Regions from separate parts of the Homo sapiens genome. Here all the other regions are linked to region 2. The links are contacts of gene promoters, found by promoter capture Hi-C in blood cells and fetal thymus (Javierre and others, 2016). All regions are on one chromosome and are shown on one strand. Each heading gives the region's core, a stretch centred on a gene start or on the middle of the fragment in contact. The rest is flanking DNA. Distances are from core to core; before and after follow the strand shown. Region 1 overlaps FAM163A (family with sequence similarity 163 member A). Region 2 holds the start of RALGPS2 (Ral GEF with PH domain and SH3 binding motif 2). Region 3 holds the start of QSOX1 (quiescin sulfhydryl oxidase 1).

Evidence for each region. The method cuts DNA at HindIII sites, captures the fragments that hold promoters and counts their contacts. A CHiCAGO score of 5 or more calls a contact.
Region 1: a fragment that was not itself captured here is called in contact with the fragment with the promoter of RALGPS2 in region 2 in 1 of 17 cell types (non-activated CD4 T cells); the score reaches 5.2 in non-activated CD4 T cells.
Region 3: the fragment with the promoter of QSOX1 here is called in contact with the fragment with the promoter of RALGPS2 in region 2 in 1 of 17 cell types (non-activated CD4 T cells); the score reaches 5.6 in non-activated CD4 T cells.

What each region holds. Positions count from the first base shown.
Region 1 is chr1:179,814,080-179,816,824 of GRCh38, forward strand. FAM163A (family with sequence similarity 163 member A) reads left to right here. Exons shown (of 5, transcript NM_173509.3): 5 at 1-2,119. The coding sequence ends at 110. LOC105371634 (a long non-coding RNA gene) reads right to left here. Exons shown (of 5, transcript XR_007066756.1): 4 at 820-2,448; 5 at 216-515. Among named protein-coding and RNA genes, the nearest start is that of MIR12116, 12 kb to the left of the region's middle. The HindIII fragment of the contact is 2,471 bases long and covers 259-2,729 here.
Region 2 is chr1:178,723,876-178,726,575 of GRCh38, forward strand. RALGPS2 (Ral GEF with PH domain and SH3 binding motif 2) reads left to right here and starts at 1,369. Exons shown (of 20, transcript NM_152663.5): 1 at 1,369-1,544. It overlaps RALGPS2-AS1 (RALGPS2 antisense RNA 1), which reads right to left and starts at 2,409. Exons shown (of 1, transcript NR_187252.1): 1 at 1-2,409. RefSeq lists silencers at 1,143-1,297, 1,199-1,368, 1,629-1,748, 1,949-2,178 and an enhancer at 1,719-2,308. The HindIII fragment of the contact is 4,509 bases long and covers 1-2,700 here.
Region 3 is chr1:180,153,578-180,156,331 of GRCh38, forward strand. QSOX1 (quiescin sulfhydryl oxidase 1) reads left to right here and starts at 1,292. Exons shown (of 12, transcript NM_002826.5): 1 at 1,292-1,595. The coding sequence starts at 1,331. It overlaps LOC105371636 (a long non-coding RNA gene), which reads right to left and starts at 1,261. Exons shown (of 2, transcript XR_001738314.3): 1 at 422-1,261. RefSeq lists a silencer at 967-1,286 and an enhancer at 1,467-1,566. The HindIII fragment of the contact is 9,170 bases long and covers 1-2,754 here.

The DNA of each region.
Region 1 (2,745 bases), core at 244-2,743, 1.1 Mb after region 2:
GGGGACCCCCATCCCTCAAATTGGCAGCACCCCAGAGTTACCCGGTGACCTGGCCAGGCTCTGGGCGTGAGGCCTTCACCAATCCAAGGGCTATTAGTACAGACGTGTAAATCCTTCCACCCCGACCCGCACACACACCCACACTGCTGCCCTGGCGGGGGCCATGGGGGTGATGAATGACCCTCCAACAGCCCCACATGGGTTGTTTCTGTTTCTTTGGCTTTTCTCGCTCCGCAGTGGAGGGTTTACTAGGATTTAAGCTTTTGAGTGCATTGAGAACCAAGACAGGGCCTGGCTCCAACTCTGTGGGCCAGAGGTGGGGGACTGCTAGGTCGAGTCTGCAGCTTCGCCAGTTTCTTGGTTGGGACACTCCTCTGGCAGCCCCAGCACCACCACAACCCCTTGCAGTGTGCCCCAGTCCCCTGGATTCGCTGGACTGCAAAAAGGAGCACCAGGGAAAGCTCAGCAAAGGCTCAGGAGGCCTCCCGGGTCCTCGGGAGATGAAGCATCCGTGCCTAGGAAAAGGGGACAGAGGGCAAGGAGAGAAGTGAGAGCTACAATTCCAGCATTGGAGAAGCGAGGGGCGGGGCGTCAACGGCACTGCTTCAGGACGCGCTTGCTGAAACGACTCCAACAGCTAGTTCACAGCCCAGCTTTGTACGTTGGTTACCATAGCTACTGCTGTCACTGTAGCTGCTCCCGTAGGGTCGTTGATTCCTGAACGTATCACATCTCACCTGCCCCCTTCCTCGTGGGACGTGTCAAGTTGACTTTAAAGCCTAAGGTGGCTTGTGGGGACTGCACCAGAAAGTGTCTAACCTTGTGTTCCCCGAAATCCTTTCTCTGACTTAGGAACCAGCGCCCCCTGCTGGAGAAGTTTTTTCATTTTGTTAGCCGACTTCTGGTAGCTTAGCAAAGAGACCAGCTGACTGTCTCTCGGCCCAGCCCACCACGCCGAGTAGCTTGTGTGGATGCAGTCCTGTGAGGGTGTGCATAACCGTTCCCAGGTGTACGCACGCGCGCGCGCGCGCACAGACACACACACACACACACACACACACACACACACACAGTAACCACGGGTAGGCACCAGGGGCTTTGTACATTCAGGAGCTGCAGAGAGGAAAGGTCTCCCATGTACCAGAGAAGGAAAAGTCTGATCCCGAAACAGCTTGAACGAAAGGTGGTTAACACGTGACCAATCCCCATGGCAGACAGCGGGCTGGTGAACAGGAAGAGCACAGAATCTCTGTGGGGCGATGCTGCAGCGGCTGAAACCACGTCAAGTCCCCCAGAGCCCGGCATTCTATGTAAGCATCCACCTGTGACGCCGTGGAGCAGGATCTTCATTCATCTCACCAGAGCAACAGCCCAGTCCTGAGGATGGGAGGGACGTGACTTAGCCTTGGGATTCCACGCTCGCCGCCCTCCCTTGGCCGCCCTACTCCCCAGTTTCCTGGCGATGAGCCATTTATTGTGTCTCACACCAGCCTCATTTCCAACTCCGACTTCCTACTTAGAATGTGGCAGTGGCTTTGTGAGTGAGAATCCTGATGAGTTTTCCAGTGGCCTCTGCAGAAGCTGGCCCCCTTCTAAGGGCATAGCTAACCCCCTTCCCACTCCTGAGTCACTGAATTCGAGGAGGGTGGGGCAGGGAAAGGGCTGGCCCCCCTGCTGAAATCTTGATTCTGCATTTGAGGAAGGTCAGGGTGCCGCTGGGGGAGCAGGGAGCGGGGAGGGAGGAAGAGGGGAATGCACATCTTTTGCGCCACTATTAAGGCACCTGTCACCTTACATCTCAATCTGGAATCAAAGTGCCCTGGGTTGAGAAGCAGACCTGGGCTCTGGTCACACTTTGGTCACTCATTAGCTCTAGGACCAGTCACTAATCTCTGAGACTCCATTTTCTCCAGGGAAACGAGGCTTGCCCAGATAGACTAACAACCCTTTAGTGCTCCAAGAAGTGAGAATTTCCGAAAAAGATCTGCCGGCCCAGAGCACTCCCTCTTGCCCTAATCCTGGCAGGGTCTGGATGTATTTACCCAACTCTGATCTTGCGTGCAGGGATGCTTGCTGATGGATGAAAGACCACAATAAAACAAGATTAGCAGCAAAACAATTTTAATTGTCAGTGAAAAGCAAACATGTTTGTCAGACTCTCCTGTGGAGTCATTTCAAATGGTAACTCTTCTCTTGTACCAGGAAGCAGCTGTAGGTGGGGTAATGGGATCTGTCTCCTGGTGCAGAGGGGCAGCTTATGGCGGCAGCAGCTTCAACAAGCCCGTCCCACGGCCAGCCCTAACTGGGCCAAGTGCAAGCTCCTGATGAGCTGCTGGGCCTGGCAGCGTTCCCCACTTCCTAGTGCCTTGCTCCCCTGGAATTCCACAGCCAATCAACCACAGCAGCCGTGTCCTCCTTGCCAGAAATAACATCATTCGTACGTCCTGCCTTTGTAAAAATCAAGACCCAGTTAACCATCACCCACTTCTTGCCCCTGATTGATGGGGTCCCTGAGTACAAGCGTCCTGTGCAATCCCCTCCCTCCTACCGCTTTCCTAGCTAAGCCCTGCTAGCCCCACAAATCAGAATCTGGGTTTGGGGTGCTGGAGAGATGGTGGGCCCCAGCTCTTCCCCACATAGCCCACGCTGCTCAGGGCACGGTCTCCAACCAGGCTCGAGATTGCCTGCCTGCCCGCTGCAGCCGCAGGGCCCCACCCTGTGGAAAAGGAAGCTTCCCCCACTCAA
Region 2 (2,700 bases), core at 119-2,618:
CTTTCTGTATACATAATGCACTTCCCTCCTTTTTACCAATCATCTTCCTTTTTCTTTTCTTTTTTGGACTCTTGTCATTTGAAATATTGGGTGGGGGGGAACGCTTTTTTTCTTCTTTTGATTGCTCTACTTCTTCTAGTGATTTCGTCATGATTCAAGACTTTCTTTGAAAGTAAAATGGAATAAAAATGAAACACTACGAACTTTGTTGCCTATCCTCGCTGTTTTTCTTTTTGACTTAACTTTGCGTTGGGGTGCTTTAAAGTAACCCTATTTGAGAGAAGGAGGTTGAAGGGCATTCTAGCGTCCCCAACTAGAGTAAAAGGGCTATGACAGAAGGCAATCAAAGGAGGAAATAATTAGCAATCTTCAACGTTCAAGATTAATCAGTTCTGTTTAGCGGTTATTAAAGGGAAGAAAGAAACCAAATGGGAATAGTGAATTATTGGTCCTTTCATGTTTTACACTTAATGCTGGTACATAGTATTCTTTCCACATTCTACTGCACATTGCCTAGAGAAAGAACTGCAGATCATCAAATAATTATCCATTTCCAAATGGTCTAATGACAGCAGATACAAAGGCGGCTCACTTAAAACCTTCCGTTAACAGTCACACTGCATCAAATGGTGCTAGCTTTAAGTAGGCCACCCATTTAGTAGACTCTGAAACAACACCTTTCCGCCCAATTTCTGTCATTTGCTCCTTAAGTCAAGGGTAGTACCCTGCGTAACATCTTACAAAGGCCTACTTCTAACACTTCCCGAATCTTAATGTGTGAGGATGTTGATCACCATAATTTATGACCTTATCTAAGACAGTGGGGTGACTCTCCACATTGGGAGCCCCCTCATTTGTCCTCAGTGACTTCTAAAAACACCGCTGGCGTGGGCTGGATATTTGATCTTGGGGCCAAGTGCTTCCAGACTTTGTTCTCTGGCCTTAAAGGTGAAGAGCCCGGCGCTGAAGGCCACAGACATCACGGCGGATTTCACAGAGGGCCGCGTTCCGGGAGCGGGTGGCCAGGCGGTGGCGGACGCCCCACCTGTCCATCCTCCTACCCCTTCCCCCCCCCGTTGTTTGGCCGGTGGGAGCCCCTCCTTTCAGCAGGCGCCGGGCGGTGGGGTTGCGGATGGCTGCGCGCGCTGCGGGCACCGATCACCGGCGGCAGTTGGGCTCCGCGGGGCCGAAAAGCTGCGGGCGGGAAGCGCGAGGTTAAGACCCTGACGGCTGCAGCTCTCAGAGCCCCCGCGAGCGCGCTCCGTTGGTGCGCGCGCGCGCGCGGCTCCGCCCCGCCCGCTTGGCGCGCGCCCCCGCCAGGTCCGCTCTCGTCCCCCACCCCTGGCGCGGACGGGGTGGTTCCAGCTCACTCTCCTCCCCCGAGCGGCAGCGGCGGCGGCGGCGGCGGCTGCTGCGGGCGCTGAATGAGAGACGGTGACTGTTCGGGTCGACGAGTGCTACTCTAGGCGGCGGCGGCCGTGGCGGTGAAGCGTGAGGCCGGCATCGTCTTTCCGTCCTCTGAGGCGACGGCCGCGGCTGCACAGGTCGGTGGGCTCAGGCCGCGGGGCGGTGCGGGGGAGGGAGGGAGGGAGGGTGGGTACGCGGCGCCCCCCGGGCGGCGCGGGGAATGGCGGCGGCGGCGCTGCGGAGTGTGGCTCTCCCGGCCGCGGGCCCCGGGGCTGCTCGCCCTGCGCGCAGGGAGGGGGCTGCGGAGCTGGGGCTGAGGCTGAGGGAGAAGGGCGCTGGGCGGCGCGCCTCCCTCGGCCGCGGGTTCTCAGAGTCGGAGCGGCCGTGGGGTCCCCGCTCGGGGGCGCCGTCCTGAAGCCGGGGGCGCTGCGACCCCTTGAACCCGCCTCGCTCTCCCTCTTGGGTGGCGGAAGCCCCCAGCCTCCGCCCGCTCTGTTCTGGCGCCCAGCGGCGCCTCAGTCTTCCTTCAGGTGAGCCCGATCCCGGACCTCGGAGCCAGGACCAGCAGAAGCCGGGCCACACCCCCTCCCCTGGCCCTGGCGGCTGCGCCCAGAAGCCTGGCCGCAGAGTTGGCCGCCCGCGAACCCGCGGAGTCGCGGTCAGGGTGACCTGTTGCAGAGCGGCCCGCAGCCCGAGCGGCCCCCGCCAGCCCCGGCCCCGGAGGGGCTGCGTCCTGTGCTGGCCTCGGGCCGGGCGCGCGGGCCGGGTGTGGGGCAGGGGCCGCAGCCCCAGGTCGGCTTGCTCTACGGCCTGGAACCGGGCTCTAGAAAAAAAAGGAGATTCCGAACGTATCTCATCAAACACTTGCAAAGCCGGGAGATCTGTCTGCAAATATCCGGAATTCCATTGCAGTATCGGATTAGGTAGGCTCATAAACACCGTGCTTTTGAGGTGATTTGGAAGAAACGCGAGCCACGAGCGAGGAACTAGTTTCTGGAAAATAGCCGTAAACCTGTGCGGAGCGAATTATTAACCCCCCGCCCCAGCTCCCCCCTCGAAGCTCTTTTCCTGTAGCTGTGTGTTGTGTAGACGCAAGCCAGTTTCAGTGTACGTGGGCGTGTTTGGGAAGAAGCTGCGAGCTGATAGGAGGTACCTAGTACAAATGTTAATTTGTTTGAGTTGGGAGGGGTAAGGGAGGAGGAAGAAAGGGCACTGATGTTAGCTGTGGAGGAGGGGCAATTGAAATACTAAATTTCTGTTAAAAAAAAAAAACCCCAAAAGAAATATCTAATG
Region 3 (2,754 bases), core at 42-2,541, 1.4 Mb after region 2:
GTAGACATGATATGTGGGCCTCCATTTGTACTACTGACTCAGTTCTTGCAAATATTAAGGGTAGACCTGTCCCTGATCTTCGTGTGTAAAATAGCACCTCCTCTGCCACTCTATTCTTACCCCAGTCTACATTTCTTCATAACATCGGTCACCATCTGATCTACATTTACTTATGTATCATCTCTTTACCCCCACTGGAATGTAAGTTCCACGTCCCTAGAGTCTATATTTTGTTTACTGCCTTATCCTTATACCTAAACAAGTGCCTGGCATGACACCACTCAGTAAAACTTGAATAAATGAATAACAAATCTAGGCTCAAAGCTCTTACAGGTGAAAGGGGCTAACCTGGCAGTCACAAAGGAAAAATATCACTGTGACAACCGTCTGAGGAGCACCTTCTCCCCTTAAAATAACTCACTCAAAACAGTGGAGCTGCAAAGGTGACCAGAGAAAATCCATTAACACCTTAGTGCCCATGACACCAGGTGAGTTGATCGGGCTACTTGCGAGAGGGACATGTGAGTGAGCGTGGAGAGCTCTGAGTAGGCTGAAGAGCTGGATGTGGGGGATCTGGGCTGCTGGGAACCCCGAATGTTGGAATCGCCCTGACAACCTTATGAGGGTGGTCAGATATGGGTCCTGAGGAAACTGATTCCACGGCAACTGCCCGCCAACCCAGCACACCCCACAGTGAAGAGGGGCTTCTGATCCATGAGTAGGGCCCCTCAAATGATGTTCCCCTTTAGATGGTCATGGTCATCAGCAGGGGTGGGTGCATCGATCCTGTGGGGTCTTGGTGGTCGCAGACCAAGCGTCCCTCTTCTCACATCTAATTCACAACGTCTCATCGCTCCGCGGGAGCCCAGGAACTGCCCTACAACAGCCGAAATCCGGGTCGTCTATTCCAACGGACTCCTCTTCCGTTGGATACGGGGGCCGTGAGAGGCCAAACAACCTCCGCGAGGCTACCCCCGCAGCGACCGCTCGGCGGGCGCTCCATTCCTTTACCGGACTGTACACCTCGCCTCCTGGGGCCTGAGGCGGGAACCCGGGTCGCGCTGCTCCGAGGCCTCGGCGGACCGCGAAAGGATGGCTCACCACCCGGCCAGGGCCAGCCCCTGCAACAAGCTCAGCCCCGCCCGCTCCCGCGCCCAGGAGCGGCCGGCGGGGCGGGGTGGCTGGGCCGGCCTCGGGGGCGGGGGCTCGGGGGCGGGGGCTCAGGGGCGGGGCCACGTGGCTCCTCCTTGCGGGCGGAGGCAGGCGGTGCCGCGGCGCCGGGACCCGACTCATCCGGTGCTTGCGTGTGGTGGTGAGCGCAGCGCCGAGGATGAGGAGGTGCAACAGCGGCTCCGGGCCGCCGCCGTCGCTGCTGCTGCTGCTGCTGTGGCTGCTCGCGGTTCCCGGCGCTAACGCGGCCCCGCGGTCGGCGCTCTATTCGCCTTCCGACCCGCTGACGCTGCTGCAGGCGGACACGGTGCGCGGCGCGGTGCTGGGCTCCCGCAGCGCCTGGGCCGTGGAGTTCTTCGCCTCCTGGTGCGGCCACTGCATCGCCTTCGCCCCGACGTGGAAGGCGCTGGCCGAAGACGTCAAAGGTGAGAAGCGGGGGCGGCCCGCTCCCCCGTGCCCCGCCGCCCGGACCCCTCCACCTGCCCGGTGGGCAGCCTCCTACTCCGGGAGCGCGTCCCTCTTCCAGTCACCTCCGCCCACCTCTTCCTCTCCGCGCATCCCACGCCCACCACCTTCATGTTTCTCAGCTCCATTTTTGCCTCCCGCTCCCTTGCCTTTTCCTCTTGGCCCTCATCCCGAGCTTCTTTCCCTCTCCGCGGCCTGGGCCCCCAGACCTGCCCTGCTCGCCCGGTTCGTCCCCCGCCAGGTTACTGCCTCCTTCCCTGCGAGAGGTCTCCTTTGTTCCTTCCTCCGCATGGTCCGCTGACACCTTACCGTTTCCTGGGCCAGCCTTGTGGCAGTCCTCTTCCTCTCGTCCAGGGACCCATGTCATCTTCCTGCCAGGTTCCCTAGCTGCTGTGGGTCAGTGCTGGGGAGAAAAGGGAACGGACATCCATTTTGCCTCCCTGCCACCTTTCTCCACTCCCTCGACTGGTTGACCAGGTGGTACATAGACTTCCTTTCTCATTTTTGTCTTTGATGTGGGTATGTCCACCTGGCAGTTTTCCTATCTCTGTTCCGGGCCTCTCCTGACCTGCCGCCTCCAGCTCCTTAGCTTCTGGGCCACATCCTTCTCTCTCTTCCCCCGCTCAGACCCTTATATTTTAAACCCATGCACCCAGAGGCCTTTGGTGCGTGTTTGGCTCTTGCTCCATGTTCCCAATCCCTGGTTGGGGCACCAAAACTATATTTCCTGAATTCCAAGACACCATCAACTGTGAGACACACTGTTCATTTTATGACAGCCCAAGGGGTAGAAGGATAGGAAAAAACCACTACATGTATAAAGATTTGAAGGTGAACTCTATTACAGAAATGCTAAAATTTTGAAACACTTAAGACTTAGAGTCGAGGAAATATGGTAATAATAGTAATTAATATTTACGGAGCACCTATCATTTCAGGCACCTTACTAAGTACTCGGCATACATTGTCTCATAGTTTCCTTTCCACAATTTAAAGATTCCTGTGGTGTCACACATCCACCTAATCCAGGTAGTGGGTATTTGGCGGGCAGGAGTGGTATAGTGATAGTGATTTGTTCCTGACTTGCTGCCTCTGAATGGAGTTACTTCCTGACTCTGG